2 separate regions of the Homo sapiens genome follow, and region 2 is linked to region 1. The links are contacts of gene promoters, found by promoter capture Hi-C in human tissues and cell types (Jung and others, 2019). All regions are on one chromosome and are shown on one strand. Each heading gives the region's core, a stretch centred on a gene start or on the middle of the fragment in contact. The rest is flanking DNA. Distances are from core to core; before and after follow the strand shown.

Region 1 (7,154 bases), core at 178-2,677:
GGTTAGCAGGAAAGATACATGATCAGATCTGTATTTTGAAAAGATCATTCTATCTGACTATAAATGACATATGGGTGATAAGGAGGTATAAACAAAGCGGACGCTGAACACCAGTTAGGAATTAGGGAGCTAAAGTGGTCTTTGCAACAGGTAGCTTGACTAATAATGGTAGAGATGGAGAGATGTGGGATGTCTGAGAATATATAGGAAGTAAAATGGGCAGAATTTTGTAAAGAATTCAACATGGATAAGGAAGAGAAAGCTCTAAAGGCTGTTGCCTGAGCATTTGGCCACAATGCGATGTTGAGGGTGCCATTCGCTGCAGAAAAAAGCAGTGGAAGCCAACCAAGTTATGGGGGAAAAGCAAAAATTTCGTCTTGAACATATTGAGTTTGAGGTCCCTGTGAGTCATCCAAGGTGAAGGTCAAATAAGAGGTGGCTTCATAGGTCTGGAGCTCAGAACAGAGGTGGAAGCTGGAGATGTCAGTCTGGGCGTCAGGTTTGTATTGTTTGTATGGGTGGTGATTGAAGCTGTGGGCATAGGTAAGATCCCAAAGTGGAGACAGTGTGAGATGAGAGGAGGGCCTAGGACTAAGTCTGTGAGGATTCCAGACACTGAACCATGGTGTCTAAATGATACAGACGGGAATGGCCCTAGAAGCCAGCACCACAGCCTCATCACTACCAATACAGACCCCTCCTGCAGTTGCGTCACCCCGCTGGACTTCAATCATTGCCTCAAGAACCGGGAGGATAATGGCCTGCCCATGCTCAGCACCAATGCCATGAGCTGGAAGACGATTTCTGCAATGGAGAAAAGGGGAGCAAGAGAGACTCAGCAGCAAAGGAAGAGAGTGTTTAGAGGAAGAGGGGTCAACAGTGCCAAATGCTGTTGAGAAATGGAGATTCAAACAGGATGGGAGTGATGAAACCCAAGAAAGTGGTCTCCTTGTAGAGGACTGAAGCTAGGGCTGATACAGGGCCAAGACAGTCTTCCATATGCATAAGTTGTACTGTAATAGCCAGTTTACATGTCTGTCTCCCTGGAGTAAAGGTCTCCAAAGTGGAACTTGTCCACCCTGTTATCCTTAAAGTCTAGTGCAAGTCCTGGAACGTAGTGGACACTTAAATTTTACTGATTAGTGAATGGGTGAATGAATGAATGAATGAATGATGGCAAATGATTGGAAGCAGAGGAAGAATCTCTGGCATCTGCCTGGACTAGCTACTATCCTTCAGCTTTTTTTCTTTTTTACCGCAATGGCCCGCAGACCCAGGAAAGAGACGACAGAGCCCCCCTTCCCTCCCTCCCCTGGGCCCTGGCCCCCCTTCCTCTCTCTGACGAAGAGTCTGGACCGAAGGTTCTGCTGACGTGGGAAGGGGAGGAGAGTCTAGAGGAAGGGGAGGGGAAAGCAGCGCAGAGATCGCAGAGACCAAGGAGGCGCCCGCGGCTGCAGAGCTGCAGAGCGGGATCTCTTCGAGCTGTCTGTGTCCGGGCAGCCGGCGCGCAACTGAGCCAGAGGACAGCGCATCCTTTCGGCGCGGGCCGGCAGGGCCCCTGCGGTCGGCAAGCTGGCTCCCCGGGTGGCCACCGGGACCCCCGAGCCCAATGGCGGGGGCGGCGGCAAAATCGACAACACTGTAGAGATCACCCCCACCTCCAACGGAGTAAGTGCCCGAGCCCCAGGTGGCGACGCCATCCTCTCCCAGCACCCCCGCCCCCGCGGAGCGTCTGGCATTTTCCTCCTGCGCATCCCTCGCCCCTGACTGCCTTCCTAGCCCTCCCTCCCACCTGCCCCCTGCCCTTGCTCTGCGGTTTCCTCCGCTTCACCCTTCTCCTGCCACCCCCTGCCCCCCAACAGCAGGTCGGGACCCTCGGAGATGCGGTGCCCACGGAGCAGCTGCAGGGTGAGCGGGAGCGCGAGCGGGAGGGGGAGGGAGACGCGGGCGGCGACGGACTGGGCAGCAGCCTGTCGCTGGCCGTGCCCCCAGGCCCCCTCAGCTTTGAGGCGCTGCTCGCCCAGGTGGGGGCGCTGGGCGGCGGCCAGCAGCTGCAGCTCGGCCTCTGCTGCCTGCCGGTGCTCTTCGTGGCTCTGGGCATGGCCTCGGACCCCATCTTCACGCTGGCGCCCCCGCTGCATTGCCACTACGGGGCCTTCCCCCCTAATGCCTCTGGCTGGGAGCAGCCTCCCAATGCCAGCGGCGTCAGCGTCGCCAGCGCTGCCCTAGCAGCCAGCGCCGCCAGCCGTGTCGCCACCAGTACCGACCCCTCGTGCAGCGGCTTCGCCCCGCCGGACTTCAACCATTGCCTCAAGGATTGGGACTATAATGGCCTTCCTGTGCTCACCACCAACGCCATCGGCCAGGTGAGGCGGCCAGGCGGGCCGCGGGTCTGGGGGCGGGCAGAGAGCGGCGAGGGCGGGGCCTCACGCCCGCTGCACCCTTCTCACATCCCCAGTGGGATCTGGTGTGTGACCTGGGCTGGCAGGTGATCCTGGAGCAGATCCTCTTCATCTTGGGCTTTGCCTCCGGCTACCTGTTCCTGGGTTACCCCGCAGACAGGTGAGGGCTGTCGTGGGGGCAGGGCTGGTAGAAAGGAGGGGGTGCTAGGGAAGCTAACCCAAGCAGCGGGCGTTTACAGGAGGTCGAAGACGATTCGCTGGACTCTGCAGTCTTCTCTGGACTTCTATTCAATGGTCTATCCATGTCTCAACTTCACTCTCCATCAAGAAATACCCCTTCCCTACCTCTTCCGCGCAAGGGAATGACTCGACCTCTATGGACTATTAGTCCCATTCCCACTAATTAGTGGCCCCCTATCCGTGAATCAATGGCCTCATCTCCAAAGAGAATAGTCTCATCCCCACTAACAGCCCACATGGACTGTTCGCTCCATCTCAGTGACCTCATTCCTGAAGATCAATATGTTAATTCCTAAACACCAACAGCTCCATTCCCACTGATCAATAGTTCAACTTCACAAACAAATTACCCCATTTCTGACCAGCGACCCCTCCCCTACAAGTCAACTAACTATCTCCAAAGACAATATCCTCAGACCCAGTAACCCACAGTCCCATGCCTGCCACCAAATGACCCAACGCTCTGTAGGGGAATAGCCCATAGATTAGCAGTCATACCCTCATGGATCCTCAGGGCTTTGAGATCCTCTCACCGAAATCCCCGTTTCCATGAGTCGGTAGCTTCACCTCTAGAGATCAACAACCCAATCCCAGCAACCAATAACTCTTCCCACAGATCAAAAATCTCATCTCTGATTCTGGTCACCTTCACCACTGACCAGATGCTCTCACTGCACTAAACTTCCGATTAGACTCAGCCCCATTGATCCACAGTTCCATCCAAGTGGATTAATAACTCAACTTCTGTGGATCAAAGCCATCCCAACATTCAATAGTCCAGTTCCTTAAAATCAATACCCATCCTCACTGCCCAATAGTCACACACCTCTGTGGGCCAATGATCCGAAACCCACAGGTCAATAGCCCATCCCTATGCATCAGTGGCCTCATTGCCACAGACCAGTAGCCTCATTCCTATGGAACCATGGTTTCATCCCCAAAGATCAATAATTTGGTCTTCTAAAATCTGTAGCCTTCAGCACATTAACCAATAAGCCCATCCTCATGGAAAAATGCCCCACCCCATTAGATCAATAGCCTAACTCCCAGGGATTGGTGCCCCTTTTGCAATGACCAGAGGCTCCCTATCTTCATCTCCATAGATCAATGGTCTTATCCCCAAAGATCAATAGCCCAGCCTCCAAGAATCAGTAACCATGTCTTCACTAACTCATAGTTAGTGACCATAATCACTTACCAATAGTCTCATCTCCCCTGGTCTGTGACCTTATCCTTACTGATTATTCCCATGGATTAATAGATTCATCCCACTGATCAATAGTCCTACCTTATGGATTAATACACCCATGTCTATGTCCCCACTGATCTTTCTTTTTTCTTTCTTTTTTTTCTTTTTTCTTTCTTTTTGAGATGGAGTCTCGCTCTGTTGCCCAGGCTGGAGTGCAGTGGCATAATCTCAGCTCACTGCAACCTCTGCCTCCCAGGTTCAAGCGATTCTCCTGCCTCAGCCTCCCGAGTAGCTGAGACTACAGGCACCTGCCACCACACCTGGCTAATTTTTGTATTTTTAGTAAGGATGGGGTTTCACCATATTTGTCAGGCTGGTCTTGAACTCCTGACCTCGTGATCTGCCAGCCTCGGCCTCCCAAAGTGCTGGGATTACAGGTGTGAGCCACTGCGCCCAGCCTGACCATTCTTAATGTATTAATAGACCAATGTCCCACCTCCATGGAACAATGGCCTCATCTCCAAAAATCAATTACTCAGTCCCCTAATATCATTGGCTTTACCTTCACTGACCAGTAGTATCCTCATGCACAAGTGGCCAATGGCCTCCCCTCCACAGGTTAATAGTTCCAACTCCGTATATCAATGAACCCCCCTCCCACATCTCCTCTGAACAGTCTGAGCAAGATAAGCTCCAGGCCCACTGACCATTAGCTCTGTTCCTAAGGATGAATGGTCCCAAATCCCCTAAGCAATATCCCATCCCCTCTGTTGAGTGATGTCACATCCATTGACAAGTGCCCTAATCTCTGACCAATAGCCCAAGAGTCAATGTTCCCACCTCTTAAAGAACCACAACCACACCCCAGTGCCCAGTAGCCAGGCATCACCCACCCATGGTCCCCATCCCTCCCCATCTTCTCAAGCCTCTGTCCAACTCTTGCTCCCAGAACTTCATTCTCATACCTCTAGCTCTGAAGTGTGCAGCTGGGTCTTACCCAGCAACTTTCCCACCACCAGAGAGTCTGGGTGACCAGAAGCCCTTCCCACTTTCTAGATTTGGCCGTCGCGGGATTGTGCTGCTGACCTTGGGGCTGGTGGGCCCCTGTGGAGTAGGAGGGGCTGCTGCAGGCTCCTCCACAGGCGTCATGGCCCTCCGATTCCTCTTGGGCTTTCTGCTTGCCGGTGTTGACCTGGGTGTCTACCTGATGCGTAAGTGGCACCCTCCCAGAATTCCCTCCCTTGGGTCTCATGCCTACCTGCCTGCATCGCCAGGCCATCCTCACTGCCCCCTAGGCCACATTTCAGCTGCCTAGAATCTCAGCTATCTTTCTGCCCAGGCCCCCTTGAAGAATCCAGGGCTCTTGCTTCTCTCTACACCTATCTCCCCCTCCCGACAATCTTTAAAGTCTTTGTCCTGGACTTACTGCTGCCAAGGAATAAGGTGCTATTCCCCTGATAGCAGTAAGTCCAGGGACAAGGATTGTCCCTAGCTGTGTGACCTTGGACAAGGGTTGATGTGAAGGTCAAATAAGAGGCCTGATGGGAAAGGGCCTATAAATTGGAAATGTTGAACACTCACCCAGGACTCTGGCCCTAGAGCCCTCCTAGGTTTGAGCAGGAGAGGAGAGAGGGCTGAACAGTCTCCCCAGTCCTTGCCACCCAGAGGTTAGCAAGGGAGGCAATGGCTGCAGCCTCCACTCTGGGTCTGACCTCTCTCTCTGTCCTCCTCCCTCCCTCTTTCTTCTTCTCTCTTATGCCTTCTTCCTCCCTGGCCTCCCTCTCCTCTCTCCACCCCTGCTGTATCTCCAGGCCTGGAGCTGTGCGACCCAACCCAGAGGCTTCGGGTGGCCCTGGCAGGGGAGTTGGTGGGGGTGGGAGGGCACTTCCTGTTCCTGGGCCTGGCCCTTGTCTCTAAGGATTGGCGATTCCTACAGCGAATGATCACCGCTCCCTGCATCCTCTTCCTGTTTTATGGGTCAGTATTACCCTTCACCTGTCGTCTGGCAATTCCCATCTCTGCCTCCAAACTAGCCCTAGCCCGGAGACCCCTCCTCTTCTCCAACTACCCCTGGTCCAGGCCTACCCCAGCCCCAGTCCCTCAGAGGTGCACATTTCCCACCCCTAGATCAGGAGAAGGGAGGCCTCACAGTATACCCCTTCCCCCCTGCCCCCAGCTGGCCTGGTTTGTTCCTGGAGTCCGCACGGTGGCTGATAGTGAAGCGGCAGATTGAGGAGGCTCAGTCTGTGCTGAGGATCCTGGCTGAGCGAAACCGGCCCCATGGGCAGATGCTGGGGGAGGAGGCCCAGGAGGCCCTGCAGGGTAAGAGACAGGGATCCCTGTGAGTGTTGCCTCACTTGCACACATGATGGTGCCCTCTGCATGGCTGTAGCTGTGCCACCTTCTCCCAGGGTCCCCACCACCCATGTGGGAGGATCCTGGGATCTCAGGGTTTTCTTCTGACAGCTCCTCTCTCTCTCCCAAAGACCTGGAGAATACCTGCCCTCTCCCTGCAACATCCTCCTTTTCCTTTGCTTCCCTCCTCAACTACCGCAACATCTGGAAAAATCTGCTTATCCTGGGCTTCACCAAGTGAGCCTGGGTGTCTGGGCTGAGGGCCAGGCCAGTAGCTGGAATGGGGGCTGGCTGGGTGGGAAGGCCCGGGGACCCCTGCGGAGGACCATCAGCACTGTAGAAGGCTGCGGGAGGGGATTCAGGCTCTGTTCGTTGCTTCCCCACCCCTTCTCACAGCTTCATTGCCCATGCCATTCGCCACTGCTACCAGCCTGTGGGAGGAGGAGGGAGCCCATCGGACTTCTACCTGTGCTCTCTGCTGGCCAGCGGCACCGCAGCCCTGGCCTGTGTCTTCCTGGGGGTCACCGTGGACCGATTTGGCCGCCGGGGCATCCTTCTTCTCTCCATGACCCTTACCGGCATTGCTTCCCTGGTCCTGCTGGGCCTGTGGGATTGTGAGCATCCTATCTTCCCCACAGTGTGGGCTCAACAAGGGAACCCCAACAGAGGTGCTTCAGACAGGCACAGCCATTTCTTCTGGCACAGGCCTCCCAAGACAAGCCCCAGACCCTGCCCAGCTCTTCCACGAGCCTCCACCTGGCCCCACAGCCCCATCTGCTCTCCCAGTCAATTACTGAATGCCCAGAGCCTGCCCAGCTAGAGCCATGGGAACAGAGAGCCAAGGGGATGACACCCGGGACTAGGCCAGCCTTGACCTCCCCACCTGCATTCATATCATCCCTCTTGCTTCTGCAGATCTGAACGAGGCTGCCATCACCACTTTCTCTGTCCTTGGGCTCTTCTCCTCC
Region 2 (6,968 bases), core at 4,052-6,551, 380 kb after region 1:
TGCTTACCCATTCTGATTCCTTTGCTAAACCTTTAATCTCCTATCTCTGCCTGTCTGACTTCAGCACTCAGCTTTTCTCACTCCCCCAGTTTCTGCCTGGTTCTCTTTAGGCTCATCTGTCTGTCTATCCTTCTGTTTACAGGGCCTCTTCTGGCTATATCTCTTTCCCTATCTTTCCTCCCCTGTGTCTCATGAGCTTCTAAGTCAGCTTTCCTAACCCACTGGACAGAGTTGGAAGTAGGGATTTTGAGGGGAAGAAGGCAAAGGTGGGAAAATTGCTCATGCTCCACCTGTTCTCACTCCTTCCCTATCCCTGATAATGTAGACACCTGGGAGCAGTTCCTGGGGGTTGGTCACATGGGGAATTGTCCTGCCTTGTCTGCTGGAAGAAGATCCTGGGTTGTCTCTTACCCCAGTGACTCTGGGTCCCTCTAAGCTTAGGGAAGCAGCCTTATACAAACAGGAGAGGGGACCTGCTTTGCTTCCAAACAAAGCACTTTGTCCTTCTGCAGTAACTCCAGTCCTGACCTCCATGGAGTCTGTCCCTGGAAGGAGACAGGCATTTGAGAGCAGGATAGATATGCTCAGGCAAAGAGGCTTCTAGGTTGAAGGGTCCCAGAGGGAAAGGCCTGTTAACAATGTGGTTCTCTCTATGCAAATCATATAGCACCTTATTAAGAGCTCACGTATTCCAGCACGTAGTTGGCTTTACTCTCCCAGGTGGCTTCCTATGCACTGGAGAGGAAGGCAGTTTGTTTAGGGGAGGGGCCCTAGAAAACTGTTAAGGAGGCAGGAGCTGGAGGAGCAGCAAGCAGAGGAGAGGGGAAGTTGGCTGGAATGAAGCCAAAGCAAATTGGAATTGCATCAGATGGAATTTTTGTGCGGGGAAGGACAGACAGCAGTTAGGAGGAAAAGCACAAAGTCCAGGTTTAAATATATTATGCAGCAGCGGGGAGCAGTGACCCCAGAAGTCTTGCACCTGGGCTGTGGGATAGGTTCCAGCCCCTTCTCTATTGTTTCTAGGGCGAACTTTGCGTTGCAAGGCTTTCTACAGTGTCAATGGCTCTGTGTACTGTGAGGAAGATTATCTGGTGAGTAAGGGTCACCTGGACCTGGAATTGGTTTCCATACTGACCCCCTTCTTGGTGGCCCATTGGAGTACCACCCATCATTCTCAGTTTGATAACAGCCTCCGTTCGTCTTGTCTTTTACTTTAGTTTTCAGGGTTTCAGGAGGCAGCTGAGAAATGCTGTGTCTGTGGTCACTTGATTTTGGAGAAGGTAAGTAAAGTGCTTTCAGCTGAGAAGTCTCACTGTGAGGCTGAGGAGCGGGATCAGGGACTAAATGGATATTGAGAGAAGGTTGGGGAAAGAAGCCTGTCACCAGATGAATCACTTTCATCCCATTCCTCCCCAGAGCAACTGTTTACAGTGGCTTCCCTCTGCCTATGGGATCAAGTCTGGGCTCAAAAGCCTGTCAACCCAGGCTTCTATGACCTAGCCCCTCCCTAACTCTGCAGGCACAGCCAGGCCTTCCAGCCTGAGCTAGGAGTGTGGGGTCCTGAGTCTTTTTTTTTTTTTTTTTTTTGAGACAGAGTCTCGCTCTGACAAAGTGGAATGATCTCGGCTCACTGCAACCTCCGCCTCCCAGGTTCAAGTGATTCTAGTGCCTCAGCCTCCCAAGTAGCTAGGACTACAGGCATGCGCCACCATGCCTGGCTAATTTTTGTATGTTTAGTAGATAAAAGGTTTTGCCATGTTGGCCAGGCTGGTCTCGAATTCCTGGCCTCAAGTGATCCTCCTGCCTCAGCCTCCCAAAGTGCTAGATTATAGGCGTGAGCCACCATGCCCAGCCTGGGGTCCTGAGTCGTCTTCTTTTTTTTTTTTTTGAGATGGAGTCTCACTCTGTTGCCCAGGCTGGAGTCCAGTGGTGCGATCTCGGCTTACTGCAAGCTCCGCCTCCTGGTTCACGCCATTCTCCTGCCTAGCTGGGACTACAGGCGCCCGCCACATGCCCGGCTAATTTTTTGGTGTGTTTTTAGTAGAGACGGGGTTTCACTGTGTTAGCCAGTATGGTCTCGATCTCCTGACCTTGTGATCCGCCCACCTCGGCCTCCCAAAGTGCTGGGATTACAGGCGTAAGCCGCCGCGCCCGGCCAGTCCTGAGTCTTAATCCCCTTTCTGCTACTGGTTAGAATCACTTGGGACTCAGTTTTCTTTTCTGTAAAAACAAAAGATAGGATTAAATCAGTGATTCTCAATCATGGTAGCCTAGCAGATCAGCTGGGAAGAACTAAAAAACAAAACAAAACAAAAAACAGTGTTTGGATCCCATCACCACAGATTGTGATAATAGGCCTGGAGGAGGGCCAAAGCATTGATGTTTTTTAAAAGCTGCCTAGGTGATCCTGATATGCAGCCAGAGTGAAACACTGCTGGCCTGAATGCTCTCTCAGGCACTTTTCAGGGTCTCCGCCTCCATTTTACGACTTCTTCACCGACATTACATAGCATTGTTCTGGGAGTATAGCAGCGGGTTGGATGAGGTTAATGGGAGTAATAAGGAGCATAATGGGCAGCTGGAGAGCTGGGACTGGAGGGAGACTGATTCTCTTGCTACCCCATGAGCCAGATCCTACAAGCAATGGGGAAGTCCTATCATCCAGGCTGTTTCCGATGCATTGTTTGCAACAAGTGCCTGGATGGCATCCCCTTCACAGTGGACTTCTCCAACCAAGTATACTGTGTCACCGACTACCACAAGTGAGTCTGCCCCTTGGGATGCAGTGTGGAACTGGGTCCAGGGATTCCCCAGCCTCAGCTCATCTCTTCCCTCTCTCTTTCAGAAATTATGCTCCTAAGTGTGCAGCCTGTGGCCAACCCATCCTCCCCTCTGAGGTCAGTATGTCTGGGTTCTCCTTCAGGGCAGCCAGTGCCACTGCCTTTGGGGAGGGGATAGGGACATGCTGCCTGGCCTCCTGCCAGAAGTGGTAGTGCCAAGGAATGTACTCTGTGAAGATTCCCGTGTGACTCTGCCTCTTGGGGTCACCACCCTGACCCTAATATCCGGGCCTGGACATGTCTGAAAGCCTAACTGGGCCCAGGCTCCATCTCTTCTATCCCAGTCCAGAGGAGGAGACTTTCTTTGAGGTCGAGGTCACCAGACTGCAGATGTAGGGGCTGGAAAAAGGTGGGAAGAATCCTCAGCACTGGTAGGAAGGGGTCAGAAATGATTTAAGCTGAGTGTAGGGGATGTGCCTATGGAGAGAAACCAAAAGCCAGTGAGGACCAGATCTTATTGGATCCCCTTGTTCCCAGCCTAGCCTACTTTATTTAGGCCTCCTGTCCCCTTCCCTTCCCTTTGCTTCCTGCACAACTGAGAGACGCAGGTAAGGCCAGGGCTGTTGTACAGAGGGAGTGTGCTCCATGGGTGCAGCCCAGTGAAGGAGATGAGAGTTCTGGTAGGATTTGCAGAAGCATCTTAAAACTACAGGTGATTGCAGAGAGACTCTGGGGGCATTTGTATGATCTTCCCATGGGGTGGGAAGGGTTGTATATGAGGGAAAGGTGGAGGTGAGGCAACATGCTGCTCTCATCTCCATGGGGGTCTGCATGTTTCAGGGCTGTGAGGACATCGTGAGGGTGATATCCATGGACCGGGATTATCACTTTGAGTGCTACCACTGTGAGGTGAGTGTTGGGGTTCAGCGGTGCTGGAGAAGAAGTGGAAATGGGGAGAGGGGAGGAGTCAAGTCCTGCAACAACCAGACATCTATGGGAGAGGTGTAGGGCATGGGAAACCAGAAAGATATTGTGACCTATCTTCAGTCTCTTTTTTGTCCTCCAGCCACTCTCTCTGGTCCAAGTAGCTTAGTCCTTTCTGAATCTGACTCTCCCAGAGTCAGGACTTTCTAAGACTAGGGACTCTGGTCAAACTTCTTGAAAGACAGGCTTGTGTCATTATTTCTGCTGCAGCAGTGACACCTGGTGTCCAGCTGAGGTATTAGTATTTTCTCAGATTGCTCTTCCATCCCTTCCATCCTTCCCTTCCCACCCCATCCCTTTCTTCCAGTTATTAGGAGTCAGGTGTTGAGCAGGGCAGACTCCTAAGATACCCTCAGTGTCCAAGGTGCCTAGGCTGAGGTGAACTAGGTGCCTTCTTCCCTAGGACTGCCGGATGCAGCTGAGTGATGAGGAAGGCTGCTGCTGTTTCCCTCTGGATGGGCACTTGCTCTGCCATGGTTGCCACATGCAGCGGCTCAATGCCCGACAACCCCCTGCCAACTATATCTGAGCTGCAATCACTGCTGCTGCTGTCACCCTGCAGACAAACTGCTGTGGCCAGTGGGCCCCTCTGAGGCCAGCCAAGGCAAAGAATGCACTCTGCAGGCCTGGCAGAAGAGTCCTCTGGGGAGGACCCCAAGGGCCGGAGACCCAAAGATCATGATATTCCAAATGGATTGTGGAAGAGAAACCTTATATTTACCAGGGTGGGGGCGACTGGCCTTTTTCCCATGTGTGCAGTCTGAGCTTAGGCACACACAGGAGGGTTCCAGGACTTTCTGAACATCTGATTCTGTATCTTCAGTATATATATTTTGTTTGTTTTAGAGATGGGATCTCACCATGTTGCCCAGGCTAGTCTTGAACTCCTGGGCTCGAATGATCCTCCCACCTTGGCCTCCCAAAGTGCTGGGATTATAGGCGTAAGCCACTGTGTCTGGCCTAGTGTATGATTATGCATGAGTCACGCAATGTTCTGGTCCTGGATTCCAGGAGTAGAGGACCTAGCTTTAAATCAATTAGTTTCAGCTAAACTGACTAGAACCAAATCAAAGTGTAATTCTCCCTCCAGCTCCCCCAAACCCCAGAGTTTTGGGGTTGTGGTTGATGCAGTGTGGGATGTCCCTGAGAGGTAGCAAGTCTAGGGTGGTGAGTTCCTGCTAGGCAACCAAATTTAAGCTCCTCACTTTTTGTGACACATGGTGTCAGATATGGGGTCCCGCACCTATATCTGGATGAAGAGGTAGAAACTCTGGACCTCATTAATGAGTTATTTCTTGGCCTTCTTCTAAGGACTAGGAGAGCTCCTTATCTGTCTGAGAATGGGGACCAGCTCTGAGTGGGGTTGCTGCCTGTATTCCCTGTTTCTCAGGAACTTACATGGGTCTGGGGAGGCTAGGTAGGTGATTGTACGTGGTTGCTCTTCTCCTTGGCTGGGGGAGGTAATGAGCAGATCTCTGTGGGTGTGGAGCTTGTTGGGGGGATGTCTAGGAAGCTTCAGCTTAGCCACATTCCCAAGTTTAGGTGCACTGAGCCATATAGCCCAGTGTATGCATGTGTGGGTGTGTTCATGCACACACACACTCTCTCTCTTGTCTCTCTGTCTCTCTCTCACTCTTTCTTACTCTCTTCTCAGGTCACTTGTACACTTGGTTTCCTAGTAGAAGCTCACTTGCCACCTCTCAGAGGGGTCCCGGATTGCATCCATCACAATCCCAAAACTAGAGTTGGGGGGAACTGGAGGGAGCAAAACACTGATTTGATACTAGTCAGTTTGCTTGAAACTAGTTCACCTAAAGCTAGATCTCTTAAAACCAATTTACTGAAAACTTGTTTGCTTAAAGTTAATGACTTAATGACTAATTTGCCAAAAGCTCAATTCCTATTTTGGTGTGTTTATATCCATTTAGGTGTCCTATTCTTTTTTGTCATGCTTTGGATATTTCAAGGATTTATATCTATTCATCCAAGAGTACTTCTGAGCTATTATCAGCAACATAAATTTATCAAATTTGCAGCACTTTGTAAATGATGAGATTGCTTCCTACCTTTATGGATGTCTTTTTCTATGTTATCTACCATTCAAAAACTTTTTTAAAAAGTTTAAAGTTTCTAGCAATAAATACAATTGGTACAGACATTTTGTGTATCATTTTTTTGTTTCTTAATCCAATATTCCTTTACAAATTAAATGCCTTGAAAAATATAATGGAGTTCAATGTGATTTTGATGCTTTGGTCTAACTTCTACATTCCTACTGTTAAAAAGGCCAGTATATCTTAAACAAATGAATAGGCATGAGGCATATTCAGTTGACTTACAATGAAAAGTTATACAGACAACAGTAATAACTAAAAGGGTGAATCTGCTAAATCCTTTTGAAATGCTGCAGATTTGATAAATATTTATTTTAGACTAATTGGTTTTAGGTGAATTGGTTTTAGGCAAATTAATTTAGTAATCTTTGATCTTTAGTCTTCATTTTCTGTCACTCAGTGAGTTTCTTACTGGAAATGATGACTCCTGACAACAGAATTTCCACATTTGGGGGCTATTCTAAGGTGACTATGCCAGCCAACCTGGGAAATACATAAAAGAGATCTCTGAGTGAGAGGGAAAGAGGTCAGATTTATACAACTGAGCGCCAGAGGGGAAAATGCACCTTGTTGGAGTGAGAAATGTTCTGAAACTGAATTACTTCTTGTACAGCTGAGATAGCTTCTTCTGAACTATTATTAAATAAGTGAATACAAAGGCCCTATGATGGGAAATCCAGACAAGCTTGTGTAACTTTACATCCATCCCCTCAGGGATATTTTTTTTTTTTTTTTTTTTTTTGAGACAGAGTCTCACTCTGTCGCCCAGGCTGGAGTGCAGTGGCGCTATCTCGGCTCACTGCAAGCTCCGCCTCCCGGATTCACACCATTCTCCTGCCTCAGCCTCCCAAGTAGCTGGGACTACAGGCGCCCGCCACCACACCCGGCTAATTTTTGTATTTTTAGTAGAGACGGGGTTTCACTGTGTTAGCCAGGCTGGTCTCGATCTCCTGACCTTGTGATCTGCCTGTCTCGGCCTCCCAAAGTGCTGGGATTACAGGCATGAGCCACTGTGCCCGGCTCTCAGGGTTTTTTTTTTTGACAGAATCTCGCTCTCTTGCCCAGGCTGAAGTGCAATGGTGCAATCTCA

Evidence for each region. Contacts are between HindIII fragments. The study calls those that stand out against the background at their distance.
Region 2: a fragment that was not itself captured here is called in contact with the fragment with the promoter of SLC22A17 in region 1 in 1 of the 25 tissues and cell types used here (pancreas).

The regions. Positions count from the first base shown.
Region 1 is chr14:23,347,160-23,354,313 of GRCh38, reverse strand. SLC22A17 (solute carrier family 22 member 17) reads left to right here and starts at 1,427. Exons shown (of 10, transcript NM_016609.7): 1 at 1,427-1,668; 2 at 1,863-2,366; 3 at 2,459-2,562; 4 at 4,888-5,042; 5 at 5,643-5,808; 6 at 6,008-6,153; 7 at 6,318-6,423; 8 at 6,583-6,800; 9 at 7,102-7,154. The coding sequence starts at 1,573. The HindIII fragment of the contact is 16,780 bases long and covers 1-7,154 here.
Region 2 is chr14:22,970,768-22,977,735 of GRCh38, reverse strand. AJUBA (ajuba LIM protein) reads left to right here. Exons shown (of 8, transcript NM_032876.6): 3 at 1,024-1,091; 4 at 1,218-1,280; 5 at 2,632-2,762; 6 at 2,846-2,897; 7 at 3,621-3,689; 8 at 4,168-6,559. The coding sequence ends at 4,293. Among named protein-coding and RNA genes, the nearest start is that of AJUBA, 8.3 kb to the left of the region's middle. RefSeq lists enhancers at 1-36, 2,338-2,838. The HindIII fragment of the contact is 4,887 bases long and covers 2,858-6,968 here.